Linked DNA regions of Homo sapiens: region 2 is linked to region 1. The links are contacts of gene promoters, found by promoter capture Hi-C in blood cells and fetal thymus (Javierre and others, 2016). All regions are on one chromosome and are shown on one strand. The core of a region is centred on a gene start or on the middle of the fragment in contact, and the rest is flanking DNA. Distances in the headings are between cores, read along the strand shown.

Region 1 (4,201 bases), core at 550-3,049:
CCCACTCCTCCATCCTGATCAAAAGGTCATGTGACCAACCTTCTAGATTCTAGACACATCCGGGGGTGTGGGATAGAAGGCAGGTGTCCTTGAATCATGACCTAGCCTCAGCATCCCTCTAAATTAGTTGCATGTAACCCAATCTCCCCCACCTAGGCTTCACTGTGTTTCAATCTTTTTGAATAAAGCGGGCCATCTTTCTTTCTGTGTGTGACCTTGGAGTTACACATAAGCAGAATAGATGTGCATCTATTCTCCATCTAACAGGCTCAACAGACAATGCACTATTCCTCCTGTCAACAGACATTATTGACACTAGAGTCATAAAATGCATCTCCAAGATGGGGAAGTCAGTTCAAGAAAGAGTATCTGTATCACGAGTTTTCTCTTTACATTTCCAACTCCTTGGCTCTAGGGGTGTTGCCGCTACCCCTCATCTTCTAGGTTCAGGTGCTCAGCTCCTGTTTGTAGCCCCAGGACAAGACGTTACCTGGGAGATCTTTAGAAATGCAGAATCTCTCCCTATCCCACAACAGAATTGCACCTGCATAACCAGTGCCCCAGGTAGATCTGGCTGAGAAGCTATGATGAAGGGCAAGGTTTGCCAAATGTTCATGGGGACAAGTTCTCCAGCGACACTGGTTTAAAATAGGAATTCCGAAAAGGTCTGATTAATGAGTTTGGGGTGGAACCCAGGAAACTGGGCATTTATTTAAAACAATCTCTCCTGTGATTCTTAGAAAGTAAATTTATAATGGGGAGGGGTCAAAGATAAGCATCTGAAAACAATTTTCACGCAATGTGGAGCTTTGAGACAGCGTTAGTCTTCAGGTTCTTTTGTTGAATGGAATTTGTGGCATCTGGGAGTGGAGCAGAGACCACTTCCCAAACTCCTGTTCTTATTTTTTTAAATTCCAGCAATTCAGAAGGAATTAAAGTAAAAGACGTAAGTTCTCTGGTTGCTGATATCTGGTACCTGAGATCAAGGCAAGATCGCTTAAACCAGTAAAGTGAGGATTATGGGAGCAAACTCAGGAATAAAGAGGGTGAACCAGGCCTGGAAGGGGACACAGGTTTGGCGACCAGACGGGTCACCGCTTGGCCCGGCCTAATCCAACTGCGCACGTCGGTGGGCCACAGCATCGCAGCGCTGGATCCCCGGGTCGGCAGAGGCGGATGGAGTTCAGCCTCTTTTTCAAAACTGCCAAAGCCACCCGGTCTGCCAAACTCCCCCACCAGCCAGCTCTGGGGCAGCCCCCCGGAGCCCGCCCGCTCCGGTCCCCGGGACAAGGGCGCAATTGACCAGCGCGGGCCGCCTCTGGCCCACCCAGATGACGGCCAACTTTTTTTGTTTTTAAGCCATCAAATTCAATATTTACAGGAAAAACCCCATGCTTGGTTCTAAAACTACTGGCCACTCAAGAAACAGTTTACTTCTCACTTCTGCCCATAACAAGAAAAACATAGACTTGTGCCTTACTCTTAAAAAAATAATAATAATAAATATAGGTTTTTTAAAATTTATATATAATTTTTAAAACCCCGTTTGTTGCATGTGGTCCCTTTCCCTCCTGTTGTTGAGCAGAATAAAAGCCCATTTTGCCAGGGCCCGCAGTCCTGGCGGCCCCCGCAGCTGCGGCCCTGTAACTTTAAACCTGGCCTGAGATCATCGTTTTGGCGCCGGCCAAACAGAGCCCGAGGGCGGGCCTAGCGCGCCCGGACGGAGACCACCTTGCGGCCGACCCCGCTCCCCCGCCTCCTCGGGAGAGATAAATGCTGACTCCGCTCGGAAAGTTCTCAACTGCAAAGTTTGCTGTCCGGCTGCCTAGGGTCTGGGAAGCTCGGGCACCCTCCCTCTCCGGGGCTCCTGCTCCCACCCCTCCGGCCCCCCCACCGTCGCGCTCCTCCAGGCTGGGCCTGTGGCCGCGGTGCTTTTTAATTTTCCCCCAGCTCAGAATCTTGCTGCTCGGCCCCCAGGAGAGCAACAACTCAACGGGAACGATGTGGAAGGTGTCAGCTCTGCTCTTCGTTTTGGGAAGCGCGTCGCTCTGGGTCCTGGCAGAAGGAGGTAAGACCCAGCGCAAGTGGCTTCCTGCCGTCGCTGATGGGGACGAGCGAGCAGAGACTTGCTGGAATGCCCGGGCCTGGTATTCGAGGTTGTCCAGGGGAGCGCGGGGGAGCTGAGGGTGTGTGCGTGTCAGGCGGCTGAGCGCCGGAGGAGGAGAGGCAGCGGCTTAGTCGGTGCCAGGTCCCAAAGACGCAGCTGCGCGGGTGTGCCGGGAGGAGCCCCGGAATCCACAGGCTGCGAGGTGGGCAGCACAGGGGGCCTCCCTCCGAGTCGGCAGCACCAGAGAGATCGGGTGGAAGGTTCACAGTAGGCAGCCCCGCTTGCTGGCAGCAGTGGCTGGGGTTTCCTTCCCATAGAGCGGTGTGTTGGAGGAATACGCACGCCTCGGGAGAAGCTGGCCTCGTAGAATCAGGAGGGACGTTCAGGAGGGCTTGGGCCAAGGGGAGGGTTCCCCGCCCTGCGGTGGCCCTGGTCCCCCTTGGGACTACCTAGTCTGGCGCCCTGCCTGTTGGACACACTCAGCACCCCGTCACTGGACTGGAAGAGGCCTCCTTTATCCTCTTTAGAGAGGATAGTGTGTGTGGAAAGGATCCAAGTGGAGGCTTCCGAGGAGTGTGAGTGCATGAGGATTGTTACGCGTTACGAACATTGAGGTTTAAGTGGGTTTGAGCCACGTGTTCATCTTGGGCAACAACATCAGTGGCTGAATGTCTGTTGGTGACTCCTTAGGCTTTAAATATTTTGTATCCCATGTTGGGGTGGGGGCGTCCACAGCTTCCATTACCCTTTGTCCTCTCCTGGAGCCTTACCTCTTCCCGCTGGGTTGCTGTGTTGGTGGTCTCCATTGACATCTGTCAACATTTTGTTTTCTTTTCTTGGGTTTTTATTTTTATATTTCCTCAATAGAACATATGTTCTGCAGGACGCAGCTACATCCAGCCATGATTCCCCACGGCCAAAACAATGCCTGGCACATAGTAGTTGCTCACTAAATGTTGGTTGAAGGAATTGTAACCTAACTCGTGATCTTTGGGGCTGGAGGTTGCTGAGTTATGCTGTGAAAAGTAAACATTTTCCAAAAATTGAGGATCAAGGTAGGCCTAGGCCCTGAGGAATACTTCTTGGAGAGGGAGCGGTTTGCAGGAGGGGTGCGCCTAACCTGGCCTCCTACAATGGTCCACACAGACAAAAATACCCAATCTCAGGGAAATGACAGAGTTCTGCTCTATGCTGTGCTGTCTGCTTCAAAGGGACTGAGCAACTCTTTTTATAGGGGCCGTGGGTTATTCGTAGCAGTCCTATCTTTGGAACTTCTCTTTCCACTGGAATATATACAGTTCTGTATTTTCAGTTACATTTCCTTTTTGGCGAGACAATGTGCAAATGACACCGTTTTGTGCTCACCAGGGCAAAGCAAGGGAGCGCCCTCACTTCAGCATCTCAGCCCTGCTAAAGAAAAAGCTGCTGGGTAACATCCTTTGTTTTTGCCCAGGGAAGCTTTAGCTGTGATTCCCTTCAGCCGGCTCCTGAATGTCAAAGGTACTCCTAAAAGATGGCGTTAAAACCGAAAAACCATCGTTGGTGCTGGAAACTCCACTACTAAAGAAAGAAGTGGTATGCGGGGCTGGCTGAGTGAGGGTGGGTGCTGAGTTGCCTGGCTGCCAGAGGAGCAGAGGCCCAGCAGGGTTTTTGTCTGAGAATAATGAGCGAGGCGACTTGAATATGGATGAATAACATCATTGAGCGAAGCTATTGTGGGCTTTTGTTGGGGAGCTGGGCTGGGGGGTAATTATGGTGATGAATTTTATGATCCTTTTCATAAGATCCTACGCCCTACTGGGTTTCCCTCCTCCAGGGTTATAATCTGGTTCAGTTTTATAATCTGGTCCCATGTGTCATCCCTTTGGGTGTTAGTGGATTCAAAGGAGGTCTGTTGTCCACACATCTGGCATTTTTTTCCATTGTCAGGCGCCACCCTCATGCTGAACTTTCATCAGGAAGGCACGTTTTGGGGGCCACTTCATTAGAGAGTTTATTTTGTGAGATTCTGCAAGCTGCTGCTCGCTGCTAACCCACATGTGCTTTTCCGGGACCAATCCACCCAGGATTAATCATGCGGCCAACAAATTTCCC
Region 2 (4,201 bases), core at 480-2,979, 220 kb after region 1:
CCAAAACAGACTGCCAGAGTCTTGAGTGGTCAATGCAGCTGCTCTATGGGCAAAGGCTCACCCCCACCTGGCTTTGGGATATTGGAAACAACTCTTCAATCCTCACTACTATGGGGACTGTGTCAGGGAGTGGGGCATGGGCTTTGGTGTCAAATGGTCCTGGATTCAAATCTTGGCTGCTTCTCTACTTGGCCGAGGGAACTTGAGTGTCCAGCTTCTTTATTTCTCTGAGCCTCAGAACCCTCCTCTGTAAAACCAGGACCATCACAGGCCCAGCCTTACAGGACTGCTGGGAATTTGAGGAGCTCCCAAAAACTACCCAAAGTAGCTCCTGGTGTATAGAAAGTGCTCAGTGGATGATGCGATGATGTTTTTTTCCCCCTTGCCTGACATCCTCATTTTACAGGCAAGACTTCTATGGCTCAGCGAGGTAGAGGCATTTTCCAGCGGCTACACAGCAAGTCCGTAATGGAGCTAGGATTCCAGCTCTGGGCTCTGGAATCCCCACCCCATCCTCCTTTGGGTTCCTGCCCTGCTTCTTTCTTCTCTGTCTTCTCAGCCCTTCCCCCAGGCTGGGGGCTTCATTTGAATGGGCAGGGGCTTCCTGAAGCACGTGGGCCTTCCCACTTGGGGAAGGTGGGTCCTGCAGTGGATGTCGACTGTTCCTGGAGGTGGCTGAGGGCCGATGGCTCCCACAGCTCCCACCTGTGGGCCCTCACCCAGCCCCCAGGGAATATCAGCATCATCACAGGCTTGTCTTACCTTTGCACCATCTCCCCACCCTCTGCCTTTCCCCTACCTTCAGCAAAAGTGCAGAATATCAGACACTGACTTCAAATGAATTGCACTCTGAGAATTTAGAGAGTTGTGTAAGACTTCTGCGGCCAGCGATGTGGCCTAACCAGCTTTCTGTATGGCTGTCCCAGGAGATCCCTCCTGAAGACTGTGAGAAAAAGGTGCAAGGAGGGACCAGGGCAGGCAGAGATCCCAGCCCAGGATGCCCATGGCGGTCTGGCAGGGAGCTTGGAAGAGCACCGTGGCCACGTGGGGACCCTGGAGCCCTGGAGAGCCCATGTCCTCTGAAAGCCGGCAGCTCCTTCCCTCCCAAACTCCTTTCCCTCCACCCTTCTTGAAGCGTCCTCTGGGTTCCTGCCTCCAGTGTCTCTTCTCCCCTTCTCTCTTGAACTCACTTTCAGGGTTTTGGCTCTTCTTGAGGAGCCATCAAACCAAGGTTATCAGCAGCCCCCAGGATGCTCAATGCAGTGGTTGGTTTCCAGTCCCATCTCCCTTGGCCCATCTGCGGCAGTGGACGCTGTTAATCCTTCTCTTCCTTGAAATACTCTCCACCTGGACACCGCCCTCTCCCAGTCTCTGCACATTACCAGCTGCTCCCCCGCATCCCGCCTCCATCCCTGGGCTCTGTCCCCCGCATCCCGCCTCCATCCCTGGGCTCTGTCCCCTCGCTCCGTCTCCGCTCCCCCTTGGTGATCTCATCCAGTCACATGCGTTAAATACCACCTGGATGCTGACCAATCCCGGGTTTCCACCCTCATCAGAATCTCCATTCAGCCGCCCACCTGACATCTCCCTTGGGTGTCTAGATTCAAATTTAATCTTTCCAAAATGAAACTGTCTCTCCATGAAGCCTCCCTCTCCTGCTGTCCTCCCTATGTGGGATGAATGGAAACGGTCCTGCTTGGAGTCCAGCTACCAGCTAGACTCCAACCTCTTCCTCCATCCCCACATCCAGCTCATCAGCAGATCCCCAAACTCACCCGGAATCCACAGCTTCTCTCAGCTCAGCCTCCTCAGCTGACCTGAGGTCCAGGCCACCATCATCTCCCTGGATGGTGGCAGTCACCTCCTTGCTGGTGTCCCCAGTTCCTTCCCTGTCAACCCACGGTCTGTGCCCAGCACAGCAGCCACTTTGGGTCATGATATTCCTCTGCCCAGAAGGACAACTGACTGACACCTCACTTGAAGGCCTATGAGACCCTCCCCTCTGCCCACATCACCTCAGACATTCCTGGTGGGTCTCACCTCAGGGCCTTTGCACTTCCTGTCCCCACTTCCTGGAACGCACAAGGCGTAGTATCCGGACCGATTGATCCCCCCACCCCAGGTCGTAGCCCACACACTGCCGTTTCCCATGTCACCTTTCCCTGTCTTCTCCTCCACTCTGACCTTCACTCCTGTTTCTTCAGTTTCATTTTCTCTTGTATATTTCAGTGTGTCTGGATTTCTCCCTTATCCAAAACCACTGGGGGCTGAATAAGAATGTGGTCATTTGGGAGCCAGGAGGCCTGAGTCTTGGCCTCGTACGGGCATCAAACTCCTTCTGAAATGAGTATCTTTCCTCTCTAGGCTACACTAAGTGACATGTAAAACTATGCTATATGTAGAGAACTTGACTTGTTTTATTCACTAAAACTCCTGTTGGCAAAGCACCTGGCACAGAATAGACACACCGTTCACCTGACAAATAGTAGATGACTGCTACTGTATGCCAGCCAGCGGCTGGGGTGCTGGAGGTGCCTCCGTGACAAACCAGCCTCCAATGCGCCCCCTCATGGAGCCTGCTAGACAGACAGTAAACAATAACCAGTAAACGCAGCTCTGTTGATGGGGATAAGCACAACTCAGAAAGTAAAAGGGAGTCGAGATGGGGAGTATCAGGGGGATTTGTGATTTCAAATAAAGTGGTTAAGCGAGGCTCACTGGGAATGAGACATTTGAACAGAAACTTGAAAGGGGGCCTGGGAGTGAGCCACAAGACCACCTGGGGGAAGAGTGTTCCAGGAACAGCCTGTGCCGAGTCCCTGAGGCAAGAATGGGCCACTGGAAATCTGAATGACTGAATGAAAGAATGAATGCATCCTTGAGGCCAGGAACAGAGCAGATGTTCTATTTCTAGACATGTTCTATTAGACGTTCTATTGTATAGATAATGCCCTTGCATTGTCTTCAGACTAGCAAGGAATTCTGACAAGTAAGAAATTAGGATCCCCAGGAGACGATGCTCTGAGGCACCATTTCTGAGCCTTCCTATGAGCCGGGAGTGGACCAGGTGTTTGAGGTCTGCCCTCTGCCCAATCCTTCCCCGTCCATACAGATTGGATGGTGTATGACATCCCCCTGTGCTTTCAAAGTCCATTAGTTTTTGTTCTAAGTAAAATGTCCAGAAATTTCCCTCCTAGAGTAGGCAGTAGAGCACACTTTGCCAGAGGCCAGACACTTCTGGGCAAAGCCTGTGTGGGGCACACAGCAGGTTCCTCCCAACCCTGCTACTATGTTTAAAATGTTCAACCACTGTGTATGAAAATCTTACCAAGGTAATGCTACACTCCCCTGCTTTCTAAAAACAGTTGATGCTGGGCCGGGCGCGGTGGCTCACGCCTGTAATCCCCACACTTTGGGAGGCCGAGGCGGGCGGATCACGAGGTCAGGAGATCGAGACCATCCTGGCTAACATGGTGAAACCCCATCTCTACTAAAAATACAAAAAATTAGCCGGGCGTGGTGGCGGGCTGAGGCAGGAGAATGGCGTGAACACGGGAGGTGGAGCTTGCAGTGAGTGGAGATCGCACCACTGCACTCCAGCCTGGGCGACAGAGTGAGACTCTGTCTCAAAAAAAAAAAAAAAAAAAACAGTTGATGCTGAACTTGTTCAACCCTTTCTTGATGTCTAGGATTGAGGACTACGTATCTCATTCATTTTGCCGGGATTTTATGGAGGAGCATCTTGGGGAGCATAGTAAGTCCATTTTCCCTCCCCTGCACTGAACAGATTTCTTGGTGTCTGAGAACAGCTGTGCAGTGGGAATATCACAGAGTCTTGAATTGCTCATTTCTTCCTTCCTTACATGTTGAGGGTCTATTATTCACTCACGCACAGTTAGGTACTAAGAATACAATGATGAACAAAACTCAACCACGCTCTGCCATCAGAGACCTTACGGCCCCCTGGGGAGACCTGCCTTTATCAGACAGTCGCAGATGCATGAGAAACTGCCCGTGTGGGGGCCGGTGTGGGAACCTGACCAGGGCCATGTTGCCTCAAGAGGGCGACCACAGAAGCATCTCCAGAGCAGTGGTTCTCAACCCAGCTGCATGTTGGAATCACTGAAGAGCTTAAAAATACCATTGCCCAATCCTGCCCCAGAGATCCTGATGTCATGTCCTGGCATGCAGCCCAGGCCTC

What was found. Contacts are between HindIII fragments. The CHiCAGO score rates a contact against its expected background, and 5 or more counts as called.
Region 2: a contact is called between a fragment that was not itself captured here and the fragment with the promoter of PDPN in region 1, in 1 of 17 cell types (total B cells). The highest score is 5.0, in total B cells.

Annotation. Positions count from the first base shown.
Region 1 is chr1:13,582,033-13,586,233 of GRCh38, forward strand. PDPN (podoplanin) reads left to right here and starts at 1,800. Exons shown (of 6, transcript NM_006474.5): 1 at 1,800-2,068. The coding sequence starts at 2,002. RefSeq lists an enhancer at 1,703-2,241. The HindIII fragment of the contact is 6,524 bases long and covers 1-3,563 here.
Region 2 is chr1:13,804,836-13,809,036 of GRCh38, forward strand. The region is part of intron 8 of PRDM2 (PR/SET domain 2); the gene reads left to right. Among named protein-coding and RNA genes, the nearest start is that of PRDM2, 110 kb to the left of the region's middle. RefSeq lists an enhancer at 1-9. The HindIII fragment of the contact is 7,820 bases long and covers 1-4,201 here.